2 separate regions of the Homo sapiens genome follow, and region 2 is linked to region 1. Evidence: promoter capture Hi-C in 16 types of primary human blood cells and fetal thymus (Javierre and others, 2016). All regions are on one chromosome and are shown on one strand. Each heading gives the region's core, a stretch centred on a gene start or on the middle of the fragment in contact. The rest is flanking DNA. Distances are from core to core; before and after follow the strand shown. Region 1 holds the start of CASD1 (CAS1 domain sialic acid O acetyltransferase 1). Region 2 holds the start of PPP1R9A (protein phosphatase 1 regulatory subunit 9A).

Region 1 (5,017 bases), core at 1,311-3,810:
CAAGATTTTCCAAGCCATGGCCTGGGCTGCTGGAGGCCCAGGATGGCTTTGAATGCAGCCCAAATTCGTAAACCTTCTTTAAATGATACGAGATTTTTTGCAATTTTTTTTAAGCTCATCAGCTATCATGAGTGTTAATATTATGTGTGGCCCAAAGACAGTTCTTCTTCTTCCAATGGGGCCCACGGAAGCCAAAAGATTGGCCACCTCTGTCCTAAAGAGTTATAATGTGAGTCAAATGTATGATTATCTTTGTGTGAAGGGCATTGCACCTGACTCAGTTTGATACTGCCAAAGCATGAGGATATTCCTGGTAAGATGTTTATTTTTCCCAGTCTTCAGCTCAAATTCTTGACATTCAGTCTGGGCAAGTACACTCACCAGGTGTATGCTTCACACTCAAGGCACTGAAGTACCTATGGAAACTGATGACTTACTTCTGGAGAAGGCTTTATAAACAATCCCAGATTGCTACACTGACTCATAAGTCCCCATCTGACATTCTATTCTCCCTGCTGATGACAGATCTTGATAAGATGAAATCTATAATCTAAAAATAATAGTAGTCCAAGGTTATCAAAAGATAAAAAGCACAAAAAAATAAAAGGAAGGGGACTAGATGTTTATTTATCTTAGGACAATAGTACTGTAGTTATAAAATTTCTCTCTACTACCATTACATAAATTGAATTAAATTACTGTTCTTTTATACCAAATTGGCATAAAATGATTAATAGTAGTTAAAAGAAATATTTCCTCAAAACCACCACAAATCAATGCATCAACATTGCTAGTTTTACATGATTGTAGATAAACCAAGGCCTTGCAAGGTCGTATGGCTGTGATCTGGAGAGAGCTGGAGAGAGGCCAAAAGGTTATAAAGAATCTAATTTTTAAAATCAATTTAGTATACTAAAAGCTGTTCACCCAGTATGGCTCTAGAGTACAATATTTTTAATTCTCAAGAGTTGGAAGAAATAAAGCAGCAAAACTGACCAAAATTGAAAGATCTCCTGGGATGAGAATACAGCGCAGACTCCAACAACCCGTTTATGGATATTTTGCCAAAGTAGGTGTAAATTTAAACGGGCACAGCGCTAATTTGCACCTGTCCATTACACATTACATCTTGACTGATTAATCTCACAGTCACCAAGAGCTGGCCAGATAATGGCTTTGATAGTATTAAGAGCCAAAAATAAAAGATCCTATCATTATTAATTTCCCTCTGCCTGTCAGCCTCTCTCCCAGTGACATTTTTACAAAGGAAAAAAAACAATCAATCAGCAAGGAGAAGTAAATATCCCTTGATTACTGAAAGATAATTCATTCTCAAATCAGGTCATATTTCCTTTTCCCCTTTACACCAATTTCAAAACCCATGGCCAAGGCCTGCTTTCAAAGTGCTTACAACTTGCTTTCAACTGCCCACCTTTACGCCTGTCAACCCACAACTTCCTTCCAAAAATCTGCTCTGGTGCCTTAACTTTGTAAAAAGTGTGCACTCCGAAGCCTTTAAACGTTTCTGCATCACAAAAGCTGGGTGGCACCTCTTCCATTTGGCCACAGGCATCTTTTGCCAGCTGTCGCCCTTTTGGCAAAGGAAAATGGGGGCGGCCCTTGCCGCTGTCCAACAGCCCAGACTGGGTGTTACAGGGCAGAGGCAAAATTAAACAAAGGCTAAGGAGCCGGACCCTTAAGAGGCAGGACCTGCGACCCCACTGCTGGCAGCGGTGCCCCTTGCAGGGCGGCCTTGGGCTTCATGCGCCCCGGGCTGCCCCCAAGGACCGCCTGTCCGACTTCCTGCACGCGAGCCCCTGATCTGGAGCGTCTCCCCGAACCCAGACCGCTCAGGAGCCGGACCTCAGCAGCACTTTTGGCCAGGTCCAGGGTTGGCGCCCCCGACCCCAGCGCGGGCGGCTCGGGGCGCCCAGAACCACCAGCCATTGTCCTTTGGTGGCCCCCACTGGGGTCCACTCAGTTGGCCTCGGGCGCCGGCCGCTGCTGGGGACACCTGGGGGAACCGCCTCCCCCGCGGGCCGGGCCGGCGGAAGGCCGCGTGGGCGTGTGTTGGGCGATGGGGGCGGCCTCCAGCCGCCGCGTCGCCGCCTCCCCCACGGCCTGCCCGGGCAGAGGGGAGGGCCCGCTCACCTCGGTAGCGGCGGGAGGCGAGGTGGCACGCTGCGAGCAGCAGCACGGCCACCAGCGCCAGCACCTTGGCGCTCCTCACGCTGAAGTAGTGGTTGATCTCCCGCTTGCCCAGGTTGTAGGCCAGAGCCGCCATCTTGGTTCCTCCATGACAACAGTGCGCGGCGGAGCGGGAAAGGGGCGCCGCACAGGGGCAGCACTGGGGCTGCCGCCGCTGCAGCCAGGCGAGGAGCGGCCGCCAGCTCCCCAGGCCGCCACCTGCGCCTCCCGCCGGGGAACCTGACCCCGCGGCCGCGGCGCCCCCGACCTCCGCCTGCCCCTCCTCGGCCGCGGCCGACTCGGCGGCCTCCCCCCAGCCCCGCCGCCGCTGCTCCGCCGTGCCGGTTCCCCAGGCGCCCTGGACGCCTGTCTCCTCCCCTTCCTCCTCCTCTTTAGCCTCCTGCCTTAATAGCGGCTGCGCCTGCGAGGGGGGTCCGGATGCCCAGTGCTCCGGGGTCACCGGGTCACGCGCCCCGGCGGGCGGCGGCGGCTGCGGCAGAGCCATGGGGGTGTGGGGAGAGAGTACTAGGGGTACCCGCCTGGCCCGGACGCGAGCCTTAGGGCTGTCTCCTAGTTTACTGGCCGCTACCTGAGCCCAGGTTGGGGCAATAGAACTACAGTTCCGGGAGAAAAGTACACATCGTCCCATTCCTTCCTTCCCCAACACTCCCCTTTCTCAGCCTTCTACTGCCAGAACCCGCCCAGCGGGATGCGAAGGACACCCTAAGGTCGTTTATTGTCTGGCTATCCGTGGCCTGGCTGGTCAGTCTGGCTGCCCCTGGGTGCTGGCCAGATTGGATTGATGGATCCAGTTGATGGTGCTGGCCGATGGATTGCTGGCATCCAACCCAGGAGTGAAACCAGTCTTAACACTTAACTCACCGCTCTGGCCAGTTTCTCTTAAACCGTTTTTTTAATGTCCTCAGTTTGCCCAGTTCTGGTGGGCGAAAGTACACCAAAGTTCCGAATGGAAGGTACAGAAGGAGCCTAACTTAGTGTAGGTGTTGATGAGAAAAGAGTCTGACTCTCACTTGTATTTACGCAAGTTTGGCTAGGTCGATGTGCCAAAAAAATTCGTTTTTTTTGAGAGGGAGTCTCACCCTGTCGCCCAAGCTCTAGTGCAGTGGCGTGATCTTCGCTCACTGCAGCCTCCCCCTCCTGGGTTCAAATGGTTGTCCTGCCTGAGCCTGCCGAGTAGCAGAGATTGCAGGCGCCCGCCACCACACCCGTTTAATTTTTGTATTTTAATAGAGACGGGGGTTTCACCATTTTGGTCAGGCTGGTCTCGAACTCCTGACCTCAAATGATCTGCCCATCTCGGCCTCCCAAAGTGCTGGGATTACAGGCATGAGCCACCAAGCCTAGCCAAAAAAAATTTTTCTTAATGTGCTTATGACAATCATCCCCGCTACTAACGTTGGTTAATGTTTTGTGATTCTCAATAAAGCCAGCACTCCATTTCCTTAATAAAGCATTGTTATCCCTACTCTCCTCTCGCTCCCACCCCACCTTTTTTAAATGGTTTTTCTTGTTGCCTTCCAGATGGGAATGGTTATTTACATTGCTTGCCATTCTACTTGCCTTGCCTTGTTTAGAGTGAGTCATTGTTTAGTTGGGGTGTTGTCAAGTATTCTTTACAACTTTCCCATTTAGCCATTCCTGAACTTGTGCTTATAGGCCCCTCTTAAAATTATAGAATATTAGATATGAAGGGACTGTAGAGATCTTGTCTACTCATTCCCATTCTCTTCATCCAAGGACTCTTTATTATGTTTTCATCCATGGACTTTATATCTTGAAAGATTTTGTCACTTAAATGAAATCACATACATCACTGTCATGGATGTAATGCTAATAAGCAATAAAGTTAAATAAGTGTACAAACACTTAGGCACTGTTCCCTGCAAATAGTCTTTTAATTTTGGCTGTCATTCTGATCAGAGGTTGATCACATGTTGTAAGAATTGGGTATTGTAAAAACCAGATAACTCTGCCAACAATATATGGTCTGCCAATCACATCCTAGACATTTCTATGATGTCATTACCAGCAAATTAGAATTTCTGATCAGCATGCAATAACCAGTGTTAACCCAAAGGGTTGAGTTAATGCCTGCAAAAAGTAAAGAAACTTGACATTCTATTAATTGCAATTTCCAGAAGGCTTTCTTAAATACTGTAAATAGCTTGTGAACCTCCTTTTTCTTCTCTCAAGTTTAAGGCCAATCTCTCTACCTCTGCTCTGAATCTTTTCTTATCCTCCTTTCTTGAGGGTGTTGATTCCTCCATCAGTTATCCCCATGCAAATCATTCTTTTTCTGTGTCTTCCAATTCTCCCTATCACCTTGCTGTTTGCCTTCCTCCAAAAAAAATTTTTTTTTAATGAAAAACACCCATGGACTCTGTTCCTGCATGTTTACCTCATCAACTCTTTCCTCCTCTGGCAAACATCTAGAAAGAGCAGTGTTGACTCTCTGCCTTCACTGGCTCAATTAGCATTCTCTCTTCAGCCATTTCATTGTTCTTCACCAAGGCTGTGTGGTATGACTACTTGTTAAATCCAAGGGACACTTTATATTCCTTATCTTCCTGGACCATTTTGTGGCACCTGACATTGTTGACCATTCTTCCTTATTTGGTATCCATCTAAAACAGAGCGGAGACTTTGTTTTCAGCCACTTCTTGCTGTTTTTAAGTGACCTTAGGATCACTTAGTCATTATTTAGTGGTCCCACCACTGCCATGGGATCACCTTCCTTATACACACGCGCGCGCACACACACACACACACACCTGATATGTCAGTCCATATTTATCTATCCTCATGCTGT
Region 2 (5,036 bases), core at 1,306-3,805, 400 kb before region 1:
GTGGTTCGTTCACCTGAAGACTCAGTTTTCAACATTTTCACTTCAGGGGTGAAAAGCCAATGTTCATAATGATCAAAGAAAAAAACCAAAAACCAAGATACCTCTCTTCTCTAATCACCAGTATTGGGTCAAGAAAAGTACCTCTCAAATGGTATACGGTGTCAGTGATCGTCCCAACAGGTGTATTAGGAACTTAGTCACAGTCAAGAGTTACACAGAATGATTTTTTCAAAGCAAGACTAGAGGTTCATCTGCAATAGAAAAGAATGAATTTCTGAATTCATTTACTTATTTGAATTTATGTCTAGTCAAATAACATACATTTTTTTTTCCAAATGGCTTAGCCACGTGGCAAACAGAAGAGATTACTCATTGAAATGGGAAGTTAAAAGTCAAAAAGTTATCATTCTGATTGGTCTTTGGTAAAAAAAAAAAAAAAAAAGTTCCAAACACAATTTGGAGATACCTATCAAAATCTCACACACACACAAACACATACACACACTCACAAATACAAGCTACACATAAGTATATTTGAAAGCAATACTTTAGCCCAAGTTTTGGTCGCTTTTGTGAATGCCCTTTAAAAAGAAACCAGCAGTTCATCGATCTTTAAGAAATCATCAAACTGTCCAGAAAATCAACTTCATTTAGGATTCTCCACAATTAGGTAGAACTTATTCTTTCTAAGTACAATTAAGTTTGGAATCTATGTTTACAAACTCCAAAACATGCCTACAGCGGCATATTTTACTTTTTTTGGTCCAATGTTCTCATCTACAGCATCCCCAAAGCAATACTAATGCAATTTCAGATCAAAACAAGGAGAAAAAAAGTTCCTGAATAGCAATAAGTTTCACTAAGTTCAGTTATAACAAGTATTTGGAAGTTTCCTAACAGTGGTTATTATTAATTATGGAGTGGGATGCAGACTACCAAGGGAATAAATGCGTAAGAATGTGACAATCAGAAAGCAAATATACTGTGACACCCCTTTTCACAGCCCTGATTTGTTTATTCTTTCTTGCCTCTAACTTACTACAGTTCAACACGCAACGCAATGCATGCTTGCTGGTCTCTTTAAGCCCACAGCAGGATTTTATATCAATAAGCCAGCAATCAAATACTTCAAGATATGCTGAGGAGCAGACAATGCAGGCAGTTCTAAAGATTTTTCATTTTATTTTTGTTTTGTTTTGATATTAGACCGAGCCACATCACCCTCACGCACAATCAGCTGAGGAGGCACACACTTTCACTTAAACCGTCTCCAAACTCGGCTCCTGGCCCAGCACGCATGCATGGCCCATGCAGACAAACAAGAAAGGCTTTGGAGTGTGGTGCCTGTTTTTTTCTTTTTTTGTAAAGCATCGACAATCTCCTTTTACCCTGACCATTCTTTTTAAAGCCACAAACACCCTCCCCTCTCCCCTACACACACCCCCCATTCCCTCCCCCGCCAATTCCAACCCAAGGAGGCGGGGGCGGGGGAGATGGGGCCGCCGGGGGATTCAAAACCTGCCCTCACAAAAGACAAACATAAATAACACCAACTTGAGAGGCAGCCGATTCCCAAGCCCGGTTCGGGACGCAATCCCTCGGCCCTGGGGCAGGACCGGGAGAGCAGGTGACGCCAAGCGCTATGGTAGGAGGTCGCAGTCTAGCTTTGTGCCAAGAAGCACCTGAAGTCCTAACACATTGGCTGCAGCTCCCGGCGGCTGCCAGGCGGATCCCACTGTGACACGGAGAGAGACGAGCTCCCTGGCCACATTTAAAAAAATAGAAAAGAAAAAAAATTACAGGGTAATGAAAATAAATCCCTTTGTTTTTCCTCCCAATGTGCCAGGAAACAATAGATCCCACTGATAATGCCTCCGATCTTCAACCTATTGCTCCTCCACCACAACCCACCCCCACCCCCAGCCTGCAACTCAGCCTTTGTACAAGCCGATTTTTTCCTCCTCTCCACCCTCCCCAACTCCTCGCCCCGCGCTCAGCCTCCCCCTTACCCGAGCGGGAGCGCCGCGGGCGGGGAGGGTCGGGCCGCCGCGGCTCCCACCCCCTCCTCGCAGGCGCCCCCCGCCCCACGGTGGACGCGGCGGCTCGGCTCGGCGCCGGCCCGCTGGGTACACCGCAACCCGCTCCTCACGGCGCAGCGCGTAGGGCGGCTGCGGCGGCCGCTTCCACTCGCGCGTCGGCCCCCAGGCGCTCCCTGCCCGCGGCGGGCGGCCCCGGGAGGCGCGCTGCGCTCCCCAACGCCATTGCGGGCGGGCGGCGGCCCGAGCAGCGACGCGCCCGCACGCTCGGGCCGGCCTGGGGCCAGGGGTGCCGGCCGGGGAAGGGGTTTGGCCCACGTGCGGTCGCCACGCCGGGCCGTTTCGGCGGCCGCGGTGTAATGGAGGAGAGGCCGCGGGGGTGAGGAAGGCCGGGGTAACAGGTGCCTCACCTCGGCTGATGGGATTAACTCTAGGGCCGCAGAGAGAGGGAGCCCGGCAGCAAAATCCCGGGAGAGGGAGAGAGAGGGAGCCTCTGGCGGCCAAGGAAGGGCGAAAAGCACCGGCCCGAGGCGAGGCCGCCCCACCCCCTCGGCCGTGGGCGAGGGGCCTCTCCGGCCTGGGGCAAGGCCCCTTCCTGTTCGGGTGTTGGCTCCGGAACTTGGTTCTGGGGCTGACCGCTGCTGGGGCCCCACTTAGTCTGAGTCTGCAGTTAACTCCGTGACCCCAAGGCATCCAAGTCCCAGGCCACTCTGCTGACCTGGAAGGCCAAGACGTAGGCCCAAGTCTGGTGTGGCCTTCACCTAAGCCACTGCGCCTGGCCTACTACTCACCTTGACCTTAAGATCTCACTGCCAAAGAGAAAGGGATGAGGAGGTCTTCTACCTTTCCTGTCTAGGGAGAGTTTTTCAGCTCACTCCCCCCCGAACCCCGCCCTTTTCTAAAGGCTCAGTACAACCTCTTACACCCCCAAGTACCGGAAGTGTTACCACCTTCCTGCAAGATATAAAACTGATCATGACTGTCAATACAGATGTTTAAACCAATCCTTCCAAAAAGCCTAGGGAGCAGGAACTCTTAAAAAATAATTTTTCAAGAAGGTAAAAACATGACAATGGTAGAAATATAAAATGAACATTGGTCAAAATTTTTATAACTCTTTTAATTAGGAAGGGAACCCCAGCAAGATACTGCAACCCATTCACGTGAGACTGTGAAGAGTAGACATAGAGGCAAGAAGAGGCAAATCTGCTTACTATTCTATAGAGCACTGAAATGTAATGTTTATTATTATCTGCTTTACAGGGCGGTAACCAGTTGTATCTGTAAAGTAACAAATTTGCATTCTGTAGATAAAACTCATTTACATTACCAAACGTTTCTACAGCTTACTGAGTAGTAAAATAGCCTAGTGAAAGTCAGTCTAAGTAAGGTGCAGACGACTGTAAATTTCACAACACTCCGGAGTCCTGTAGATAACATCCAGCATTCCATTGAAAGGACAAACAGTAATCTTTTGCTCATTTCAAAGTCTTTCACAAGTTTTCCCAACATAACTATTTTTAGCCCCATTTCACTGATGGAAAAACTAAGGTTTAGGTTTTGTAACTTACCCGCTTCTTTATTGGCTATTAATAGTAAATGATTATGGCTGAATATGAACCCAGGCAAGTCCGTACACAAATTCTATATACTCTGGGAGCAAAATCTTTTCATTTCAGAAGGATTTTGTAACTACTCAATACTCAGTTCTATGTATTTTTTAATTTTAAGCAGCAAGGGCTTTTTTTTCCTTTAAGCATCACCAAATTCTGGGTCCTTTCCCAAGAAATTGGCATTCTCTGTCTACGAAGTGGATGTCACTTCTATAAGCATAAACAGATGTAACAGGCAATGTGAGGGGGCTGTGGTTCCAGGCTCCACTTTTGGAAAGAACATTTCTGCTGTCTGGGATAATCTAGTGGAAAAGTTCCTGTCATTTATTTGCAGTATGGAAACCAGGTTTTTTAGGCGAATAACCTAAATAAATGCAGAATCTAATCACTGAGTTCTGTCTGTAGAAGAGGGGGCAGAGTTGGCAATAAAGACAGTCTTACACCTCTTTGCAGAAAGATGATTCATACAGAAAAGCACCCTAAAGGATTTGGTTGGTTTGAGTTTTATCTTTTGAAAATCTGAAACTTCTGGAAAAGTTCATACTGAAGGAATGATAGAGTTTTAAACCCGATGGTGAGAATTTAAGATTCCTAGATTTCCTATAATGGACCTTCCATTTCCAACACTTACTTGAATGTTTGAAGGGTCTATTAGACTGCTAATCCAATACATGCGGCTATTTAACTTTAATTAAAATTAAATACAATTTAAAATTCAGTTCCTTAGTCACACAAGCCGCATTTGAAAGGCTTGATGGCTACATGTGCCTAGTGGCCACTCTGTTGCACAGTGTAGATACGCAACATTTCCATCACAGAAAGTTCTATCAAACAGTGTTGTTCTAGACCACATTTTCACTTCTATGAACTTTATAAGGGTTAACTTAGTTCAATAGATCATTAATGTATTAGGCATTAGAGGTCATACATTTTATATGTTCCAACTGGAAAGGTGGTGAAAAGTGAACTTCATTACTGACATGCAAAAAATCCAAAATGTGTTTGGGGTGGGGGAGTTCTCAGTTTTCATATATGATACCTTAACCTTTCATAAATTATATAGAATATTGTGGGCTGTTATTTTCATTTCCTTTGCAACCAATAATACCATGATTAGTATTAACCATGTGGTCACAAGGTTAGAGGATAAACAAAAAGTACAAAGTATATTCTATATTGTTTTAGGGGTTTTCTCAATGTATTTTTAAGTTTTCGTGATGGACATTCTAAGAACTATTCAAAGAATTAAGTTATTCATGTGTGTATGTGAATCATTGGGTGCAGCTGTGAAATTAAGCCCAAACTAAGCCTGAATCAAATTTTAAGACTAGGGAAAACTGGCTAAGCTGGTACTAAAGACTGCCCATCACACTTTCATTTCTAACAG

Evidence for each region. Contacts are between HindIII fragments. The CHiCAGO score rates a contact against its expected background, and 5 or more counts as called.
Region 2: the fragment with the promoter of PPP1R9A here is called in contact with the fragment with the promoter of CASD1 in region 1 in 1 of 17 cell types (endothelial precursors); the score reaches 5.9 in endothelial precursors.

The regions. Positions count from the first base shown.
Region 1 is chr7:94,507,352-94,512,368 of GRCh38, reverse strand. It overlaps CASD1 (CAS1 domain sialic acid O acetyltransferase 1), which reads right to left and starts at 2,560. Exons shown (of 18, transcript NM_022900.5): 1 at 2,152-2,560. The coding sequence starts at 2,284. RefSeq lists silencers at 1,897-2,256, 2,357-2,506, 2,547-2,766 and enhancers at 1,300-2,286, 2,287-3,275. The HindIII fragment of the contact is 8,005 bases long and covers 1-5,017 here.
Region 2 is chr7:94,905,113-94,910,148 of GRCh38, reverse strand. PPP1R9A (protein phosphatase 1 regulatory subunit 9A) reads right to left here and starts at 2,555. Exons shown (of 20, transcript NM_001166160.2): 1 at 2,447-2,555; 2 at 1-251. The coding sequence starts at 35. RefSeq lists an enhancer at 1,738-2,498. The HindIII fragment of the contact is 9,522 bases long and covers 1-5,036 here.